Linked DNA regions of Homo sapiens: all the other regions are linked to region 3. Evidence: promoter capture Hi-C in 16 types of primary human blood cells and fetal thymus (Javierre and others, 2016). All regions are on one chromosome and are shown on one strand. Each heading gives the region's core, a stretch centred on a gene start or on the middle of the fragment in contact. The rest is flanking DNA. Distances are from core to core; before and after follow the strand shown.

What was found. The method cuts DNA at HindIII sites, captures the fragments that hold promoters and counts their contacts. A CHiCAGO score of 5 or more calls a contact.
Region 1: a contact is called between a fragment that was not itself captured here and the fragment with the promoter of SKOR1 in region 3, in 2 of 17 cell types (megakaryocytes and erythroblasts). The highest score is 6.7, in megakaryocytes.
Region 2: a contact is called between a fragment that was not itself captured here and the fragment with the promoter of SKOR1 in region 3, in 7 of 17 cell types (total CD8 T cells, naive CD4 T cells, naive CD8 T cells and 4 more). The highest score is 6.4, in total CD8 T cells.
Region 4: a fragment that was not itself captured here is called in contact with the fragment with the promoter of SKOR1 in region 3 in 1 of 17 cell types (neutrophils); the score reaches 7.8 in neutrophils.
Region 5: a contact is called between a fragment that was not itself captured here and the fragment with the promoter of SKOR1 in region 3, in 1 of 17 cell types (megakaryocytes). The highest score is 5.7, in megakaryocytes.
Region 6: a fragment that was not itself captured here is called in contact with the fragment with the promoter of SKOR1 in region 3 in 4 of 17 cell types (erythroblasts, neutrophils, megakaryocytes and 1 more); the score reaches 6.8 in erythroblasts.
Region 7: a fragment that was not itself captured here is called in contact with the fragment with the promoter of SKOR1 in region 3 in 9 of 17 cell types (naive CD4 T cells, naive CD8 T cells, total CD4 T cells and 6 more); the score reaches 9.6 in naive CD4 T cells.

What each region holds. Positions count from the first base shown.
Region 1 is chr15:68,136,457-68,139,224 of GRCh38, reverse strand. The region is part of intron 2 of PIAS1 (protein inhibitor of activated STAT 1); the gene reads right to left. Among named protein-coding and RNA genes, the nearest start is that of CALML4, 67 kb to the left of the region's middle. The HindIII fragment of the contact is 785 bases long and covers 1,044-1,828 here.
Region 2 is chr15:67,429,687-67,432,386 of GRCh38, reverse strand. The region is part of intron 16 of IQCH (IQ motif containing H); the gene reads right to left. IQCH-AS1 (IQCH antisense RNA 1) reads left to right here. Exons shown (of 6, transcript NR_040052.1): 4 at 1,987-2,066. Among named protein-coding and RNA genes, the nearest start is that of C15orf61, 90 kb to the left of the region's middle. The HindIII fragment of the contact is 1,368 bases long and covers 581-1,948 here.
Region 3 is chr15:67,824,246-67,826,945 of GRCh38, reverse strand. SKOR1 (SKI family transcriptional corepressor 1) reads right to left here and starts at 1,437. Exons shown (of 9, transcript NM_001365915.1): 1 at 1,237-1,437; 2 at 1-1,010. The coding sequence starts at 1,343. LOC124903570 reads right to left here. Exons shown (of 4, transcript XM_047433429.1): 3 at 1,544-2,307; 4 at 1,362-1,433. The coding sequence ends at 1,362. RefSeq lists an enhancer at 1-169. The HindIII fragment of the contact is 26,599 bases long and covers 1-2,700 here.
Region 4 is chr15:68,232,162-68,234,935 of GRCh38, reverse strand. It overlaps a transcript of CLN6 not described here. Among named protein-coding and RNA genes, the nearest start is that of CLN6, 3.8 kb to the right of the region's middle. The HindIII fragment of the contact is 4,684 bases long and covers 1-2,774 here.
Region 5 is chr15:68,170,950-68,173,649 of GRCh38, reverse strand. All of the region lies in intron 8 of PIAS1 (protein inhibitor of activated STAT 1), which reads right to left. Among named protein-coding and RNA genes, the nearest start is that of CALML4, 33 kb to the left of the region's middle. The HindIII fragment of the contact is 2,600 bases long and covers 1-2,573 here.
Region 6 is chr15:68,190,228-68,192,927 of GRCh38, reverse strand. PIAS1 (protein inhibitor of activated STAT 1) reads right to left here. Exons shown (of 14, transcript NM_016166.3): 14 at 1-2,700. CALML4 (calmodulin like 4) reads left to right here. Exons shown (of 5, transcript NM_033429.3): 5 at 1-2,223. Among named protein-coding and RNA genes, the nearest start is that of CALML4, 14 kb to the left of the region's middle. The HindIII fragment of the contact is 932 bases long and covers 878-1,809 here.
Region 7 is chr15:67,471,411-67,474,110 of GRCh38, reverse strand. All of the region lies in intron 17 of IQCH (IQ motif containing H), which reads right to left. The region is part of intron 2 of IQCH-AS1 (IQCH antisense RNA 1); the gene reads left to right. Among named protein-coding and RNA genes, the nearest start is that of C15orf61, 48 kb to the left of the region's middle. The HindIII fragment of the contact is 4,188 bases long and covers 1-2,700 here.

The DNA of each region.
Region 1 (2,768 bases), core at 187-2,686, 310 kb before region 3:
GGGACAAGATTACACAGACCTGGATTCCAAACCGGTTTTGCCACTTACGTGCCATGTGACCTTGGGTATTCATTCACTCTGAGTCTTTCTTCCAATATTTAAACACAGAAACATACACGCTCTGTTAGGATTATTTTGAAGAATGTAAATGAGTAACATATTGAAAACAACCAATAATTTCCTTTTCTTCTCACTTTTCTCCTTACCACTATACTGAGTCAAAATATATGAGGCCGTAACTTCCACCCACTGATGCCACACAGCACTGAACTAATCTCACCATCCAGTGACAGCCATTCTTCAAATATTTGAAGAGACTTAATATGCCCCTCCCTTTCCAATGACTCTTCCCACTGTATTTTAGTAAAGATTTCAGAATTACTCACTGTCCAAATCTTCCTCCTCCAGACGTACCCCAGGTTGTTACACCCTTATTAAAGTGACAGAACTGGCTGGGCATGGTGGCTCACGCCTGTAATCCCAGCACTTTGGGAGACTGAGGCGGGCAGATCATCTGAGGTCAGGAGTTCAAGACCAGCCAGGCCAACATGGTGAAACCCTGTCTCTACCAAAAATACAAACATTAGCCAGGTGTGGTGGCATGCGCCTGTAATCCCAGCTACCTGGGAGGCTGAGGCAGGAGAATAGTTTGAACCTGGGAGGCAGAGGTTGCAGTGAGCCGAGATCGCCGCACTGCACTCCAGCCTGGGCAACAAGAGTGAAACTCCGTCTCATTCATTCATTCATAAATAAATAAATAAAGTGACAGAACTGGACAGCACTGTCACAGCACATATCATTTGTTCAAAATATGTGTTGCCCTTCTGTATTGGCCTATCCCAATGGGAGGATAATGTTCAGGGCCATGGACATTACCCTTGGTCAATGAAATAGGAGTGGTAGTGTACCACTTTCAAGCAGTTCAAGAGGCACCTAAGGCTTTACTGTCTTTGTTTCCCCTCTGCCTTGATCCCAGAGCAAACAAAACATATAGCAGAGTCACAGTCTACAGCTAGTTAAATAACATAAGTGGGAAAGAAGCTTTATTTCTTTGGTTATTTTTTCTTTCTTTTTTAGAGACAGGGTCTTGCCCTGTTCCCACGCTAGAGTGCAGTGGCATGATCATAGCTCACTGCAGCCTCAAACTCCTGTGCTCAAGCAATCCTCCTGCCTCAGTCTCTACAGTAGCTGGCACTACAATAGTGGGTGCCACCATGCCCGACTAATTTTTTTTATTTTTTATTTTGTAGAGATGAGGTATTGCTGTGTTGCCCAGGCTGAACTGGAATGCCTGGCCTCAAGAATCCTCCCACCTTGGCCTCCCAAAGTCCTGGGATTACATGCCCAAATCTTCTTTAGTTGTTTCTAATAGTTGTTAGCCATTGAGATCTAAGGTTGCTTCTAAGTTGATTGATATATTCTTCCAGATGTGATGTCAGTAGAACACTACTTTCATTAACTACTTTCTAGTAGTTAATCCATACAATAATCATGAAGACAATGTTATCAGACCATTTTTCAGATGAAGAAATTGAGGTTCAGAGTAATTACTAACTTGTCAAGCCTTCAAATTTGTAAGTAGAAAACTCAGAACTGGAACTCAATCTGTACATCTCCTGCCTCCAAAGTCCGTGTTCCTCTCATAACATAGGTTTATTAGCTCTCTTGATCTCGGTGCTGTACTCCTACCAGTGCAGCCTTGCATTACACTGGATCACAGAAAATCGGAAAAGAATTACCTATTATCCTCTTATTGTAACTGCTTATGACTTTTATCTATTTCCTTCCAGTCATTCTCATATCAAACTATAGATACAATATGAAAGCTTGCTTTAAAAAAATTACCCTTATTACATTTTCAATTGCAGTCTCTATTACCATTTTTAATTACTGTATTCTCTCAGGGGACATATGAACATTTTAATTACTCCCCTGATTAGTCATTTAGGTTATTTCTAATTTTTCACTATTTGAAATAACTCTGTGGATATCTTTGGGCTTAAAGGTTTGTTTTTTGGAAGGGGGGCAGGTTATTATTTTATTTGGATCAATTCCCAGGTGTGAGATTTCAGGGTCAAAAAGTATGAAGATTTTTATGAATCCTGACACATCGCAAGAGTGCTTTTCAAATGGTTGTTTTACATATAAGACCATCAGCAATTTATGCATCTAGTGATTACACTCTGGCCAGCATGGGAGTTGCTGCTAATTTAATGAATGGATCCTGGTAACTCTTGAGAAGTTTAATTCACATCTAAAATATTTCCATGTTTTGTTATTTGCTGAATTTCCTATTTAACTAATTGTCCAGCCTTGTCCTATGCCTATTTATGTATTTGCATAAGGGTTTCATATACAAGAATATTAAAACCCTGGAAATTTGCTACAAATATTTCCTCCAGTCTGCTACAATTTTTTAAATTTCATTTGGGCTATATTTTTAGATGATATAAAAGATTTTTATGTGGTCCAATCTGTCAACAATCTCCTTTTAAATTCTTCTGCTAATTCTGAACTTAGCTGTTCCTTTGCATAAATTCAATAAATACACAATTAATTTTTTGGCTTATTGTTTCTATGTAATTATTTAATATATCTGGAATTTTAGTTCATATTTTAAAAATCTAAATTTCAGCTCTTTCCACGGTCTCCCTCTGATGCCGAGCCGAAGCTGGACTGTACTGCTGCCATCTCGGCTCACTGCAACCTCCCTGCCTGATTCTCCTGCCTCAGCCTGCCGAGTGCCTGTAGCGCGCCACCACGCCTGA
Region 2 (2,700 bases), core at 15-2,514, 390 kb after region 3:
AGATTTTTTTTTATTCTAGGCTGATATTCTGTATTTAGAAACTCTTAAAAATCGTTTTCAGACTTTATGGGATATACTGCGGTATATATCAGGGCCTCCATTTTCATCTTTCCTCACAATCTGTACTTTGTGACAAGTCTTATTTCCTTTCTGTAGCTAACTTTATGTTTTGGAAGGGCCATTACTACTCTCCAATAGCTAGTTTTCATATCAATTCTTCTTAAAGCTTGGATTTTCTTTAATTTCCTTTTTCAAAAAAAGTATTAACTATCAATGCTTATAATACAGATTGTTGTTTCAAAGTTCACAATTATCTAAAATAAGAGTTAATTTATTTATTTATTTTTGAGACAGGGTCTTGCTCTGTCATCCAGGCTGGAGTGCAGTGGCGAGATCCTAGCTTATTGCAGCCAGCCTCCAACTCCTGGGCTTAAGTGATCCTCCTGCCTCAGCCTCCCATGTAGGTAGGATTACAGATGTGTGCCACCATGCCCAACTAATTTTTTATTTTTAATTTTAGAGATGAGTCTTGATGCCCAGGCTAAAAGAACTTTTTTTCCTTTTTCCATCACCTGAAGCTTTTATTTGGTAAAAGCCAGATCACCATGCTCCTCAAGAAACAAGAGGCTACAATCTAAAAAACTATTGATATTGGTAGGAAATGTTCAACTAAATTCTATGATAATTAATGAACCTTATATCTATTCAATTTCCTGTGAAATATAAAGAACAATGTGTGTTTTTTTTTAACTTTTAAGTTCGGGGTACGTGTGCAGGTTTGCTACACAGGTAAACTTGTGCCATGGGGGTTTGTTGTACACATTATTTCATCACCCAGGTATTAAGCCTAGTACCCAGGAGTTATTTTTCCTGATTCTCTCCCTCCTCCCACCCTCCACCCTTTGATAGGCCTCAGTGCGTGGTGTTCCCCTCTATGTGTCCCTGTATTCTCATCATTTAGCTCCCACTTATAAGTGGGAACATGCAGTATTTGGTTTTCTGTTCCTGTGTTAGTTTACTAAGGATAATGACCTCCAGCTACATCCATGTCCCTGCAAATGCAGGACATGATCTTGTTCTGAAAGAATTTTTTAATTTGGGAATTTTCATATAGAGCATCTTTGCCAATCTATTTGTTTAGAGACTTTTATATGAGGAACAGGAATGGGAGAATTGCTATATAAATGTATATTTACTTGAGGTGAATCCAACATGATATTTGTAAGACTTAGATCATCATTTTTATCCATATGTGTTCTGTGCTTTTTCCCACCACTCTTTCCCACCAAGTGAGCCTGTTTCTCACTTGGAATACACTCTTTCTTACCCTCCTCATATCCTAATTTTCTTTCGGCTCAAATCCCACCTTCTCTGCAAAACCTTTCTTGATTGCTCCCAACAGAAGGGATCTTTCTCTTGTCTGAATGCATGTAGAAAAATCATTTGGCCGTTAAACTGATATTACCTTTTTGATGTCTCTTTTATTGTTCTACGTAGTTGTCACTTAAGCCTTTCCTTGCTACTCATTTTTCAAGCCTATCTTCCCAACTAGAATGTGAACTCCCTAAGGGCAGGCACTTCCATGTCTTTTGCATCTTTGTAGCTTCTCTAGCACCTAGCATTATGGCTTATACATAATAGATGCTCAATAAACACTTGTTTTTTTTAGAGTTTCCCCAAAGTGAGTAATTAACTACAAAAGATCTGGATCATCTAGAAGTTCCAAAAGTCCATAAATCAACAAATAATAATCAGGTGGCTGGCCAAATATGACCATCATTGTGTTAGACATTATGAAGAGGTAAAAAAAATTCAAGGCCTAGTACATTTTCTAAAGGATTAAAAAAATCTCATGGAGGCAATATTTATACCTATGAATCAATACAAGTATAAAACAATTGTGTGCATGTATAGCAAATAAAATGGGACGATGGATATGAAATAAGCTTTGTCATGATACAGAAGATGTCTTGTTTATTTCCACAGCACCTAACAGGAAGCCAGAGTAGGTCCTCTGAAGGTGTTTGTTCAATGAACTTGTCATCCTCCTCAACTTAAAGCCTTTAGTAAGTACTTCATATCCCTCCTAGAACCTACTAGATACTGTTTATCATTGATCCTGGCTCCAGGACCCATCAGGATTTGGAAATAGCTTTTGCTGCTATTTGTTTACTGCTTGGATCCCCTTACATAATATTATCCTTATGTGGGAAGGCCAGATCTCCAACATGGCTGCCTTGTAGCTCTGTGTATTCTGGAGTGCCATGTACTCTGCGTGCCATCTCTGAAGGCCTAGAATTTCCCCATTTCTAGGGTACCAAAATCCTGGACCTAAATCCACTGGCAGGAGTAATCTTAGACCATGCTCCACCATCTCCATTTCCCAGGGACCAGCCCCTTCTTCCTTGATTACAAAATGACCGTGTGTTCTACTTGATGCTTCCAATATTTAAGTCTTACATTTCCACAACTTCTTCTATTCTGCTAGAACCTCATTCTCATCTCCTTAGGTCTAGAAAGAATTCTCCACTTTCTTTTCTGGAGTTGATTCACAATTGTGGGACTGTCCTTGAGGCATTGCTGTCATTTTATCTATTTTGCCTTGGCCCCCAGTCCCCTTTGCCCCTCCTGCGTCAGCATGGTAAATTATGGGGCCCAGCTGGGGCCAATGGGCATGAATTTGAAATGGATGCAGTCACC
Region 3 (2,700 bases), core at 188-2,687:
GGTAGCTTCGTACGCCGGCGCCGCCACCGGGCCCTCCTGGGCCCGCCGGGCCACTAGCTCCAGTCGCCAGGCCAAGTCCGCGCTGCGGGTGGGGTGGAGGTGGCCCCGGAGGCCCGGCAGCCTCATCTTCGCCACAGCGCAGGCTTTTGTGGGGCGGCGGGCCTGGGGCCATCTCTGCACCGCACCCTGGGCCACCGCCGCCACCGCCGCCAGCACCACCCTTCCCCTGCCCACCCGACCCGCCATTGGCACCGCCTCCGCCGCCTCCTTGTAGGGAGAAGGTCCGCTTGCGCGTGCCGCCATTAAACATGGCCTTGACGTCCTCCCAAGCATGGCTCAGTTCGTCTGTGGCCGACTTGTCACTGAGTTTGAGGTGACGACGCCAGGAGTTGAAGTTGGCGGCATCGGGCTGCGTGTACTTGGCGTCGGGTGTTCGGTGCGAGTGGAAGATGAACTTGTTGGGCGAGAAGTACATGCTGCAGTAGCCGCACTTGATGCACTTGGCACGAGAGCTGTTGTAACGCGCAGGGATGAAGCTACCACGCGAGCCCCACGCGCACTCGTGCACCACATCGAAGGCGAAGTTCTCGGGCAGCTTGGGTGGTTTGTGCTCGCCCAGGAACGACTTGCACAGGCGTTCGGCCTCTCGCTTAGTGATCATGCCGCAGCGGCGCGACGAGATGGGCATGGCCCCGGCCCGACGCAGAATCTCCAGCTGTACCGGCGTGCACTGCACGCACGTGATGCCCAGGGCCACGCGGCGGTTGTGGATCTCATTATAGCTGTAGTTCTTGAGGAGGGTGTTGGAGATCTGCGCCAGGCATAGGCGCTCCTGGCCGTCGATGACCAGCGACACAATGGGCACCCCGTACAGCGACGTCTCGCCCACCTGGTTGGGTTTGAGAGCGCTGGAGCCCGAGTACGGCTGCAGCTCCTGCTTGGAGTTGGGCGAGGAACTGCCCTCGCGCCCCGGCCCCAGCTGAGTGGTGAGAGCCTCCATGCCGCCGCTCCTGCGAAATAGAGAAAGCAGAGAGCAGATGAGCCATTTTCAGCGCCGCCGCCGAGGCTCGGGCCCGCCCAGCAGGGCGCTCCGAGTTGGGCGCGCGGGGGATACTTGGCAGTGGGGAGTCCAAACTCATTCACCCCCTGGACAGGCGTCTTTTGTTACTCAGACCCATGTTGGCGCCGTTAACAACAGCCCCCGGGGCTTGGGGGAGGAGAAGGGGTAAAGGAGACCTCAGGAATGCCCGGGCTGCAAGGAACCCAATCCCGTTTTCGGATTGGGAAGGAAGTGAAACCCAGATACGCAGAGTGACTTGCCCAAGGCCACACAGCAAAGCCATTGCCAAATCCTGGCTTTTTCAGCGCCCAGATCCGTGCGCCTTCGGCAACCCTCGCAGCCGGTGCTGCCGGCCCGGGTCCTGAAGCCCGGACTTCGGGGATCGGCCGCCCCTCTGCTCAGTCGCGCATGCACGCGGGCGGGCGGGGGCAGTGCAAGGAGGGGTGGGGAGGGGGGAGGGGCGGTCACTGCCCATCTCCAGACAGCAGGGGGTAGAGGGGGGTGAAGAGAAGGAGGGGGGTGAGGAGAAGGAGGAGGGAACCGTGTCTGCCAGGGAAGGAGAGAGGCGGAGGCTACCGCTGTTCGCGGTGCTGAACCTGACCCTCTCCAAAGCGCTCGGTGCGCACCCGGACCTAGCGCGGCCCCCACCGCACCCAGCTTGGTGCCCGAGCCGGCTTCAGGGGACAACATTGCCAGTTTCCACAAACCCGAGCTTCTCCTCTCACGGCTGGCGCCCGCGTTCGTTGAGCAGAAAGATTTCGGCTGGATATATAAACCGTTTTCTTTCCAGCTATTAGTGAGACCAGGATCCTGCAGTTCTAACCACATTTTCTGCATTTTTAGCTGTATTCCAGACCAAAGCTGGTTTCCACCGAGGTCAACGTGTGGGACAGAGAGGTTCTCAAGGAACTTTGTTGGGATCCACTTCTTAGCTTCCAGTCGCCCACTCCTTGAGCTTTCCTCCTTCAGATATACGTTTCCCACTCGGGCCAACTGCAGGATTCGGGGCTCTGGGCTTCCTCTTTGAGGGGCATCACCTCTCTGAGTATCCTTCATGCCTCGCTGTCCCGGCTCATATGGGCTAGAAGGAATCTCAGCCATCTTCGTAGCCATTGCAAGGCTCCAGGCACACAAGTTGCTGCTGGTCCTTGCACTTTGCTTTCTGGCTGAGGCAGGGAGGGAGCTGTGCAGGCAGACCTCAGCAGCGGGGGTACTTGGGGACTGATGTTTGGGGCCCTCTAGGTCGCCTGACCCAGCCACATGTCCTCAGACAAGCCAGGCTCCCATCCGGCCCAAGGCTGCAGGCGCTCCTGCGGCCAGGGCAGCCCAACCCTGAGGGCTCCTCCCCTGCAGTCGGCCCTGAATGTAACTCCGTTTTCAGAGGGGCAGCTCCAGACAGGGGATCCCAGTTCAAAAGCCTTCAGCAAGGAGACTGGAATCTTCTGTTTATCTGTCTCTCTCCCTTCTTCTCTATTTGTCTAGGAGACCCTCATTTGTCGATCTTATCTGTCCCTGAGCTGTCTCTGCCGGCTCGTTCCTCTTTCTCTCATCTGTTTTGTACCTTCTTCAAGTATCAAGCTATTTATGTATTATCTGTCTGTTTCATCTTTATCTCCGAGGATCGAACTAAAATAAGTTGA
Region 4 (2,774 bases), core at 41-2,540, 410 kb before region 3:
AAGCAATTCTCCTGCCTCAGCCTCCCGAGTAGCTGGGATTACAGGCACCTGCCACCATGCCCAGCTAATTGTTGTATTTTTAGTAGAGACGGAGTTTCACTATGTTGGCCAGGCTGGTCTCAAACTCCCGACCTCAAATGATCTGCTCACCTTGGCCTCCCAAAGTGCTGGGATTACATGCGTGAGCCACCGCGCCCGGCCTTTGTCAACTGTTAAGAGTGAAAGAAATTATAAGGAAAAAGAAATGATAAGGAAAAGAGTGGAGGGCTCTGGGAGCCTCTCAGCTTCTCCTAGCTCTCAGCAGCAGACGGGAGGGGAACGGGCTAGCAGAGAGCAATTCAGCTCTGGGCTGTCATGGGGACAGCAGGCTTCTAGGCAGGGTCTGAATTTATAGCCACATGTAAAAGGCAGTGATCTCTTCCATTAATGGGTGGAAATAGAGCCCTATATTAGGGCTTTTGTTCAAGTTGCAAACTCAGGGCCGTGAACTATACACTTCTCCTTCCCTTGGCTGTCTGGTTAGAGAAGGAGCAGCCATATCGGTACACTGCCTGGCTCAGGGTGGGCACTGGCTCAAGCCATCCAATCAGAATCCCTCCGCGGGAATTTTGAATTGGGCCCAGAAGAGGCCACCCACATTCTGCTTATCTCTTGGATGGAAGAAAGATAAACTTGGGAGCTGCTGACTGAGGCCGTCGGCTGCTGTATTTCCTGGAAAGCCAGGAAAGCCAGTCTGCAGGGAGAAAGAGAGAAGGATGACATGGAAACAGTGTTGTGGGTGGTGCCTTCCTGGGCTCCCAAAGTCCCAGCACCATTCTCAGTTCCTGAGGCCCAACTGCATCCTTATGCTTAGGTTCCCTAAGACACCCCTAAATCCTTGTAATAGAAATCCCCTTTTGTCATCAACCTGTCCCCCGTTGCTTCTAGTAATCACAACCACAAGAATCTGAATTAAACACAACCTGGGGACCTTCTCTCTCCCCACAGTGTGACTTCTGGTCACCCTCCCAGCTTCTTCAGCCAGATGGGGAGTGTCCTGCAGGCAATACCAGTTGACACAGAAAGACAGTCTCCATCTTCCCCCAGTGCCCCAGTCCCTTGCTGTCTGTCCTTGTGCAGCCTTCTCACTGTGCACAGTCTTGTTGCCCACACTTAGAGATCCCCTAGTCAGGCCCCTCCTGGCTGCCTCTCTCCAAAGTAACTGAGTTTTCCTGGTCCCACTTCGTCTGTCTGCCTTCTGGAGTCCCAGCCTCTGGATCCAGGATTCTGTGTGTCATGTCTCTCAGATGGTAGCTGCAGTCTAGCAGGGGCCTTCAAAGCCTTCTGGTGGCAGGGCAGTGTGGGAAGATGTTTTGAAGAAAGAGAAATTTTCAAAAGCTCTTAAGAGACTGGATAGAAAGGGTACTGGATTAGGAGTGGAGACTGGATTCTGGCCTGGCTTGGCTTCTAACTCGCTGTGTGGCTTTAGGCTTCATTTTCCGCAGCTGCAGAATGATGAAATTAGGCAAGATCAAAGGCTTTCCAGGGAGCCCTTTGGAGGTGACTTGGCCACGGCCTTGTAACCATAAGGGGAGAAGAGATGGCACCTGGGACCCTGCTTCTCTTCACTCAGGGCACCACCCCCCCCACCCCCCCGTAGGTGTTTCATACATTGAGCATGCTGGAAAGATCTTTGTCTTAGCCCAGGTTTCCAAAGAAGCAGAGCAGGGCAGCATGTATGCTAACACTGTATTGGGGAGTGTGGTGGCTGGGAAGGGGAAGTGAGGACAAGGGGGAGTGAGACAGAGGAGAAGGGAGGGCACACAAGAGAGTGCACTGCGGAGCTGGCCACCACTCCGTCTGGAAGGATGCTAGACCTTACAGGACCTTCTTTATTATTTATTTATTTATTTTGAGACTGAGCCTTGCTCTGTCGCCCAGACTAGAGTGCAGTGGCGTGATCTCGGCTCACTGCAACCTCTGCCTCCTGGGTTCATGCAATTTCTCCTGCCTCAGCCTCCCAAGTAGCTGGGATTACAGGCACATGCCACGACACCCAGTTCGTTTTTGTATTTTTAGTAGAGACAGGGTTTCACCATGTTGGTCAGGCTGGTCTTGAACTCCTGACCTCACGTGGTCCACCCACCTTGGCCTCCCAACGTGCTGGGATTACAGGTGTGAGCCACTGCGCATGGCCCAGGACCTTCTTTAAAGTGGCTGTGTGAACTCGGAACTCAGGCCAGTCTGTCCAGAAAGAGGAAGAGAGAAAAATTTATTTGCTAATCCCTGTCTCTTGCTGGTCAAAGTTCACTCCATGGAGTGTCCAACACTCCTGCACTTCTGAGGCCAAGGGTGTGGGGCCAAGGGGAGAGGAGGTGCAGTTGACTTCTGCCTGGGTGAAGTCAGTTGTCACAGCAGCTGGACAAAACAAGTGGCAAGGAGCTGGAAGACTGGTGTGTCTAACGGATCTTAGGCGATACATTTAAAAGTATCTGATACAGGCCTGGTGCAGTGGCTCACGCCTGCAATCCCAGCACTTTGAGAGACTAAGGCGGGCAGATCACAAGGTCAGTAGATCAAGACCAGCCTGGCTAACATGGTGAAACCCCGTCTCTACTAAAAATATAAAAAATTAGCCAGGCGTGGTGGTGCATGCCTGTAGTCCCAGCTACTTGGGAGGGTGAGGCAGGAGAATCACTTGAACCAGGGAGGCAGAGGTTGCAGCAAGCCGAGATCGTGCCATTGCACTCCAGCCTGGGCGACAGAGCAAGACTCCGTCTCAAAAAAAAAAAAAA
Region 5 (2,700 bases), core at 24-2,523, 350 kb before region 3:
GGTAGGCATGCTGATTTAAAGCATACAGTGTTGACTTTTCATCAATGTAGAAGAACATTAAACACATTTCCTGTGAAATATCCATAGGTTAAAAAATGACAGTATTTCTTTGGCTATCAAACAAAATGACTATGGAAAGTCTACAACAAGGGTTATTTACTAAAATCCACAGCTCACAGATCAGCTTTTGGTGGAGAGGGTCATAAACCCCTTGAATTACATTCAAAATTTCGTGTGTGCATTTTTCTGGAGAGAGTGCTTTCACCAGTTTTTTTTTTTTAAACAGATGGGGTCTTGCTATATTGCCCAGGCTGAAGTGCCAACTCTTATTCACAGGCACAATCGTAGCACACTACAGCCTCAAACTCCTGGGCTCAAGCAATCCTCCTGCCTCAGCCTCCAGAGTAGCTGGGGATACAGGCGCACACCACTGTGCCCGGCTTTTCTCAAATTCTTAAAGCAGTCCTTGATCCAAAAAAAATTTAAGAACCACCTTACTAGGGATTAGGGAAAATAAAGAATGCCCTATTAAATACTGCACAATACAGAGATGCATTGATATTTGCTATCAGTCTTATCTATGAATGAAAGTAGTTCACAGGACAAAACTGAATCAATAGTGATCATTCCCCATGATGTTTGGCATAATTGCCAAGTGGCAGCTCTGAGGAGGAAGGCAGGTGCACACACTCTGCATTGCTTCCTCACTGGGAACCATCACGAGCAATTCAGCCTACAGCCCTGGACCTCTAGCATCTCCAGCATGTCAGGAGACTTCTTGCCCTGCAAATATTGCTTCAGCTAACACGGGTTGAGTCTATCCAGGAAGAGGAAATCTGCTTCATCTGGTCCCTGAGCTGCTAGCTTTAGCCCAAGGCAGAAAAGCCACGCAGAAACCTGCACAGGGAGGTACCACATCACTATCTCATTCCCTGGAAGCCAGCTTGTACCACTGTAGAGTCCCCAGATCCCACAATGGCCACCATATAGCAGAGAAGTTATCTACTTTCAATAACCACATTATTTGCCAAGTACCAGGAAAAGATTTGTGAACTTGAAAAATATAAACGCTTGTGCTGGAGAGGATGTGGAGAAATAGGAATGCTTTTACACTGTTGGTGGGACTGTAAACTAGTTCACCATTGTGGAACACAGTGTGGCAATTCCTCAAGGATCTGGAACTAGAAATACCATTTGACCCAGCAATCCCATTACTGGGTATATACCCAAAGGATTATTATAAATCATGCTACTTATAAAGACACACTGGACACGTATGTTTATTGCAGCACTATTCACAATAGCAAAGACTTGGAACCACCCCAAATGTCCATCAATGATAGACTGAATTAAGAAAATGTGGCACATATATACCATGGAATACTATGCAGCCATAAAAAAGGATGAGTTCATGTCCTTTGCAGGGACATGGATGAAGCTGGAAACCATCATTCTGAGCAAAGTATCACAAGGACAGAAAACCAAACATCACATGTTCTCACTCATAGGTGGGAACTGAACAATGAGAACACTTGGACACAGGGCGGGGAACATCACACACCAGGGCCTGTCTTGGGGTGGGGGGCTGGGGGAGGGATAGCATTAGGAAAAATACCTAATGTAAATGATGAGTTAACGGGTGCAGCAAACCAATATGGCACATGTATACCTGCACGTTGTGCACATGTACCATAGAACTTAAAGTATTTTATATATATATAAAACATATAAAAGAAAAAAATATATATGAAAGAAAAATATAAAGGCTTGAAAAGAATATGAGTTAAATGAGGAAAAGATTCTTGGCTTACTTAGATCAATTTCAGGGAAATGTGAAATTTCCTAGTCTACCAGGAAATTAACTGTCATTTGGGGCCCAAAATAATTGCTTTGATACCGATGATTTACTGTGTCTCTAAGAAAGGCATTTAGCCTTTCTGGGCCTCTTTTACTTTCTCTAAATTAACACTATTTCCTCCTTACTTCAACCAGATGTAGCCATGATGAATAAAAATAGAACACTGAACATGCTATAAACTTACTGAGACTAGAGCAATGCCAGTTTACAGTATCAGAAGTATAACCTGGAGGGACCTAGAGTAAAAACTGGTAACTCCCTTCTGTGTACTCCCAACTCTACACTCCTGCATATGATTACAATCAAGCACCACATAACATTTTGGTCAACACTGAACCGCATATACGATAGAGGTCTTCAAATTAAGACAGCCATGTTACTGGTTTCTGTATTTACTATACTTTTTATCATTATTTTGGAGTGTACTCCCTTTACTTATATATATTTTAAAAGTTAACTGTAAAACAGCCTCAGGCAGGTCCTTCAGGAGGTATTCCAGAAGAAGGCACTGTTACCATAAGAGAGAACAGCTCCATGTCTGTTACTGCCACTGAAGACGTTCCAGTGGGAAAAGATGTGGAGGTGGAAAGTAGTGATACTGATGATCCGGACCCTGTGCAGGCCTAGGCTAATGTGTGTTTGTGTCTTTGTTTTTAACAAAAAAGTTTAAAAAGTAGAAAATAAAAGTAAAAAATGTTAAAAATAGAAAAAAGCTTATAGAATAAGGATATAAAGAAAGAAAATATTTTTGTACAGCTGTACAATGTGCTTGTGTTTTAAGCTAAGTGTTGTTATTACAAGAGTCAAAAGTTAAAAAAAATAAAAAGCTTATAAAATAAAAA
Region 6 (2,700 bases), core at 94-2,593, 370 kb before region 3:
TCAAATCTGGATCATTCGTAGTGCCAGCACAGTCCTAAAAGGGCTGGAGTACCACACCAACACAGGTAGGGGTGCAGGGCTTCAAGTACAAAGATTTGCATCCATGTATGTATCAAAAGTGGGTTCTCTGGGCTGTGGCTTTGTCTAGTAGTACCACAGTGGCTAAAGTAGAAGAAAACCAAATCAAATGGGATGTGTCTTTTGGGAGGATGTACAAGACACAAATCTTTCACTAGGCACCGGGCACAGGGAAAACTGCAGGGAACAAGAGTTGTAGTGTTAGTGCAACTGTCTCAACGATGCTGTGTGGCTTCAGACCCAAACAAGGCCCTGAGGAAGGAGACTCTCATTTCCCCAAGCATAACTGCAAGGAGAGGAGGAATTCCTAGGAGCCAAAGAGTTTTGTGGGGTGAGGGTAAATAAATGGCCCAAATGCCAACTAGGTGAAGTTGTGACCATCTGGCTGGGAAGCCCAGGTCCACACAGTGTAGGAGCAGATGTTTTGTGGGGTCTGAGGTTTACGAGATTTGGCTGCCTTAAGAATACAAAAACAGAAATGCAGAATTTCTGGGGCTGCTCCTAGGACCAGAACAAGTGAAGGGTCCTGGTGCTTAAACTTCATTACCTTCATGGTAAATCCACCAGAGGGCCGGTTAGATGCTGGCCCCGCCGAGAGAACTGCTGTCACTTTCAGGCAAAGCTCAAAGGTCCTAGGCCCACAGTTCTTTTGAGCTCCAGTCATGGACATTAGGAAGTAAATCCTGCACAGCCAACCTGGAATACCAAAGATTAGATGGGAGATAGATACCAATGATTTAGATGGCACAGGAAGAGCAAGTTCTGGATATAATAAATGAGGGTACTTTCCGTCAAAGCTTTTCTATGTCTATATTTATCACTGAATAGTCCCAGTATGGTTTTAAAGCAAGTTTTATGAATCTCATTTGCCTAACAGGAATCTGAAATATAACTTGCCAAAAACACACAGTTGGTGTGGAATGGTCATTAGAACCTGGGGCTCCTCTTCACGGACTCCCTGCTCATTAAGGGATTCAGTGGTCCAGAGTCTAAGATCCTATTAAGTGTTTGATTCAAACCTCTACCCGAGGAAGGGCTGTTACCTTACTCCTGGTCCTGGTTTCAAGCTCATTCCTGAAATTCCAGCTGGTTTCTCTAGCACCTAGTGTTGTTTACAAGAAGGCCACGGTGCTCTTAGCATTCAAACTGCAGATACTAAACAGATGCTGTGATTTATTAAAGAGTTAGCCATATTTCAACAAGAAAGGGAAATGATGGCTATATTCATTACTTACCTCAAAGCATGCTGCAAGAAAATTAGTTAGTTACTTGTCATGCTTTGAAATCTCTGGATGAAAGGTGCTTTGGAAGCACAAACCATTATCACTTGTCTCATAGGGATTGTCCCCTTGAACATCCAGCAGTGTTATTTTACAGAAGACAAATTAACTGAAGGCTTTTCTTTTATTACATCTAAAGAGCTCTACATAAACAGGTAACATTCAATAGGTAAACAATTTTTTTCCAATGCATGTAATAAATATTTTCACTTGGTACTTTTATACAAACTGACATTGTCTACTATACATTTTTAAAAGCCATTTTACTGGTTTGGCATGCGGTATGGAAATTCTAAGAGAGAAAGTTTTAAGGCAATGAATCACAGATTTAAGTTCATGGAATTTATGGTAACTTTATCTGTTTATGTACATTTTCCCCTTTGTTAAACAATTAACAGCAGCACACTCTGGGACCACCAGCTATTTTCCCTCTCTTTCTGAAATCTAAGCTTTGTATTTAATTAAAAAACAGAATTCAACATCTATTGATAAAACAAAATTCTTACTAAAATAATTTCAAATGTGCTTTAAAAAGTCCTGAAGATCTTGAAAGTTTTATGTGTTTAAAATTGAAATTGTCTAAAAAAATGCTCTTTCCACATTAATTTAGTTAGGATATATTTTCACTCCATTTCAGACACTTGACTCAAAGGAAAATCTGCCAAAGAATCCGATTTTTCAGAGCTTACGTGAATCTTTCCTCAGTAAAGATACAGAATTGTGATCATGTCTAAATAATTAGTAAAGCAATTTTAATGCTCAAAATAGTCAACCAAGTATGGCATGGTTCTGGTTCAGATTTTTTTTTTTTAAGATGTATCCAATAACACTCACGAAGTAATTAAAAGCCACTTTAACCCTGCTAGTCAAATAGCTATTTTATCAAAGATGTGTGCATACAGATGTATATATATATACACACACACACACACAGTACTGTACAGAAACAAACATATGCATACCTACTATGAACGGCCAAGGCAAGGGGGATGATGGCAACTTGACTAGATTCTGAGAACTGCTATTTGTCCACAGATAGCATGTCAATGTTGGGATGGGTTGGGGAGTGAGCGTAGGCTAAGAAAAAAAGAGATGAAGTGACTATGTGCTTTTCTTTAAACTTAGTAGTTACAGACATAGTACAGGACTCTACTAATAATTAGTAGAGATCATGAAAGTCTGATTGATATTGACCATGAGACCAACAGAGTGACAACTATTACTTAATGCAACATTTTGGAAAGTCAACAACTGATGGAAACAAACTCCTCACAGGGTAGAACGAACTAAAATTAAGACAACTGAATGGTTAGTTTCTCCTGTGGACACATGACCAAAACCA
Region 7 (2,700 bases), core at 167-2,666, 350 kb after region 3:
CCTCTCCACACACACACACACACACACACACACACACACACACTCAGATTTCGTGGCACTTTTGGTGACATGCTCCCCTCACACATGATGGGGGGAGCATGTTTTTCTTCAACATTTACATCAAGTCCTGTGTCCGAAGGTCACATCATCAGTGCCACCAGTTAAGGCTGCTCATCCTAAATGCAAGTGGAGTCCACATCTACAGACGAGTTAGGCCCCCACAGGCTAATACATCTTGAGTTGTTTACCCCACTTGTAGCGTCCCATTTGTAGCCATTGGGATTTTTCTAACAACAGAAAATTGATTTGATCCTCATATGCCTCACTACTGTACTCTGTCACCCTGACCTATCATGAGTTGTTCCCTTGGTCATCTGCCCTCCATGACTGGGAGTTTTCTGAGGGCAGGCGCTGTTTGGTTTCTGAATCTCCAGTTTGGGCATGATACCAGCACAGAACAGGCACTTGGTGTTTATTAAATAAAAGAGAATGAATACATGAAATAGATTAGGTGGATAGCTCTTCCCTCTGACTTAAGAGACTCTTCAAAGTATGTAATTTAAGAAAGACACTGCCCATTGATAAATGCTTTGGAGCAAAAGCAGGTGATTATTACATGGCACAGGGGACAGTCACACCATCCTTAGAGAAGGACAACTCAGGGCAGTTGCTCCGGGCCTTGCCTGCTGGAGGACAGCATGGCTCTGGTGGACTAAGCAGGAATAATTGGTGGGGTAAAAAGAACTGGCTTGGAGAAGTTCTGGCCCAGCTAGCTAGTCTGTCTGGAAGGGCATGGCCACAAGGCCTGCTCGCCCTGCCATACTGGGCTGGCCATGCTCTCACCTTCACACTGAAAAGCCCAGAAGCATGGGCTTTTGCACATGGAAGTGAACTGTAAACACTCTCAAATTCCATTGTGGTTACTGAGCATGTAATTGCATGGTAATTGCCATGAATTCACAAGATAATTCCAAGGTTATTTTTGTCTTCTAAACTTGTCTGATGCTGCCATAGTATATAAACAAGAAAAACCAAGACCAGACCCCAGCCAGCAAGAGAGGTAGGCAGGCAGGCATGTGGTAGCACAATCTAGCAATACTATGTATCTTGGCTCCAAAGCACAGCAGAAGAGCTTACTGTCCAGTAGTACATGATTACTAGACAACATGTAAGGGCAGGCTACCCTGAGGTTTCTTCTTCACTACAGATGCAGAGTGCAACTCCCCTTCCTCCCAGACTGGGGTTTGTGATGCATAAAGAATCTGAAGGAAGAGCCAGGATATTTGGTACATGTCTCCCAACCTTCTTTTCCATAACCATCACCATCCTAGTCCAGACCTTTATTGCCTGGAGAGTCAGAGGTGAGGATACAAGCAGAATTCTGCAGTGGAAAGGTTATATGGAGTGAGAAAGAAGTTCAGAACCTGACAAGGCCACTTACTGTGTATGTGATCTTGAACAGATCATTGAAATTCTGTCTTCTGATGATTAAATAAGCACCTACTGCAGTGCCTGGAACCTGATAAATGGTAGCTACTATTTTTGTTGTCATTCCTTTGAAAGGATTTTGGATCTACAATAAATGTAACTTCCCAGGCTGTTTTTTCCCCTACTCTTCCCCCATCTCCTGGGATTCTGAACAGTATCACCGGATTAATCATTTCCCCCTAACACAGGTTGGTCTGTGTCATCCTCCTATTCAGAAATATTCAGGCCTTTTTGCCTTCACGGTGAAATCTAGACCCTGGTGTGGTGGGTAGACCTCCCCAAACTTGCTCAGTGCACCCTTCCAACTACTTCTCCTGCTTCCCACTTCCCCAGTTCTGTGCTCCAGTCTGACTGGTTCACTGCCTTTTCCTAGCAGACCACAGGTTTCTTTGGACTCTGTCCCATCTGCTAGGGGACGTCCTCCCCTCCTCGCCAGTTAGTGACTGTTCTAGTCTTTAAGGCAGGATAAAGTTCTGTGTTTTCATTAAAGTGTTCCCTGTCCCTGTCAGTCCATGGTCATTTCCCCTGAGAACTCTGGCAGCAAGCTGAGGGTCTGTCACTCAAATGGCATTTATCCATGTGTATGTTATCTATTTTAATAGCAACATCTCTCTCTCTCTATGGCCTTTCTTTTCAGCTCCTCAAGGATAGGGACTTTGTCAATTATCTTTGTCTCCTGATGCTTGGTGAAAGTCCTGGCACATATTAAGTGCTAAATAAATGCATTAGAATAATACTTACAAGATACAACTACTTTTTAGAAGACCTAGCCAACTGCACAGTTTCTACAGGAAGAAACTATCAATCACCTAGGATTGTCTTATGTCCAGCCTGATAGCACAAGTGAATAGCATAGGAGTATTGAGAGGAGGATTAGATGAGAATGTAAAGACCTTGGAATAGTGTCTGGCACACAGTAAGCTCTCAATAAATGTTAGCAATTATTTTCACATATTAAACTAAATAGTTTCAAAGATAAGGTCAATTATTTCAAATTAAAACTGACCAACTAACCAATAAACCTTTTCATCAGAAGGTGACTTGAATCAGAAGACCTGGGCTTTGCTATGTACCACCTTTATGACTTGGGCAGCTCACTTAACTTTGCTTAGCCTCAGTTTCCTATTCTGTAAAATGTATATAATAATCCTTAACATCGATTTCTTGGGGTTATCATGGGGATCAAATAAGCTCATGTATAGTTAAAGTATA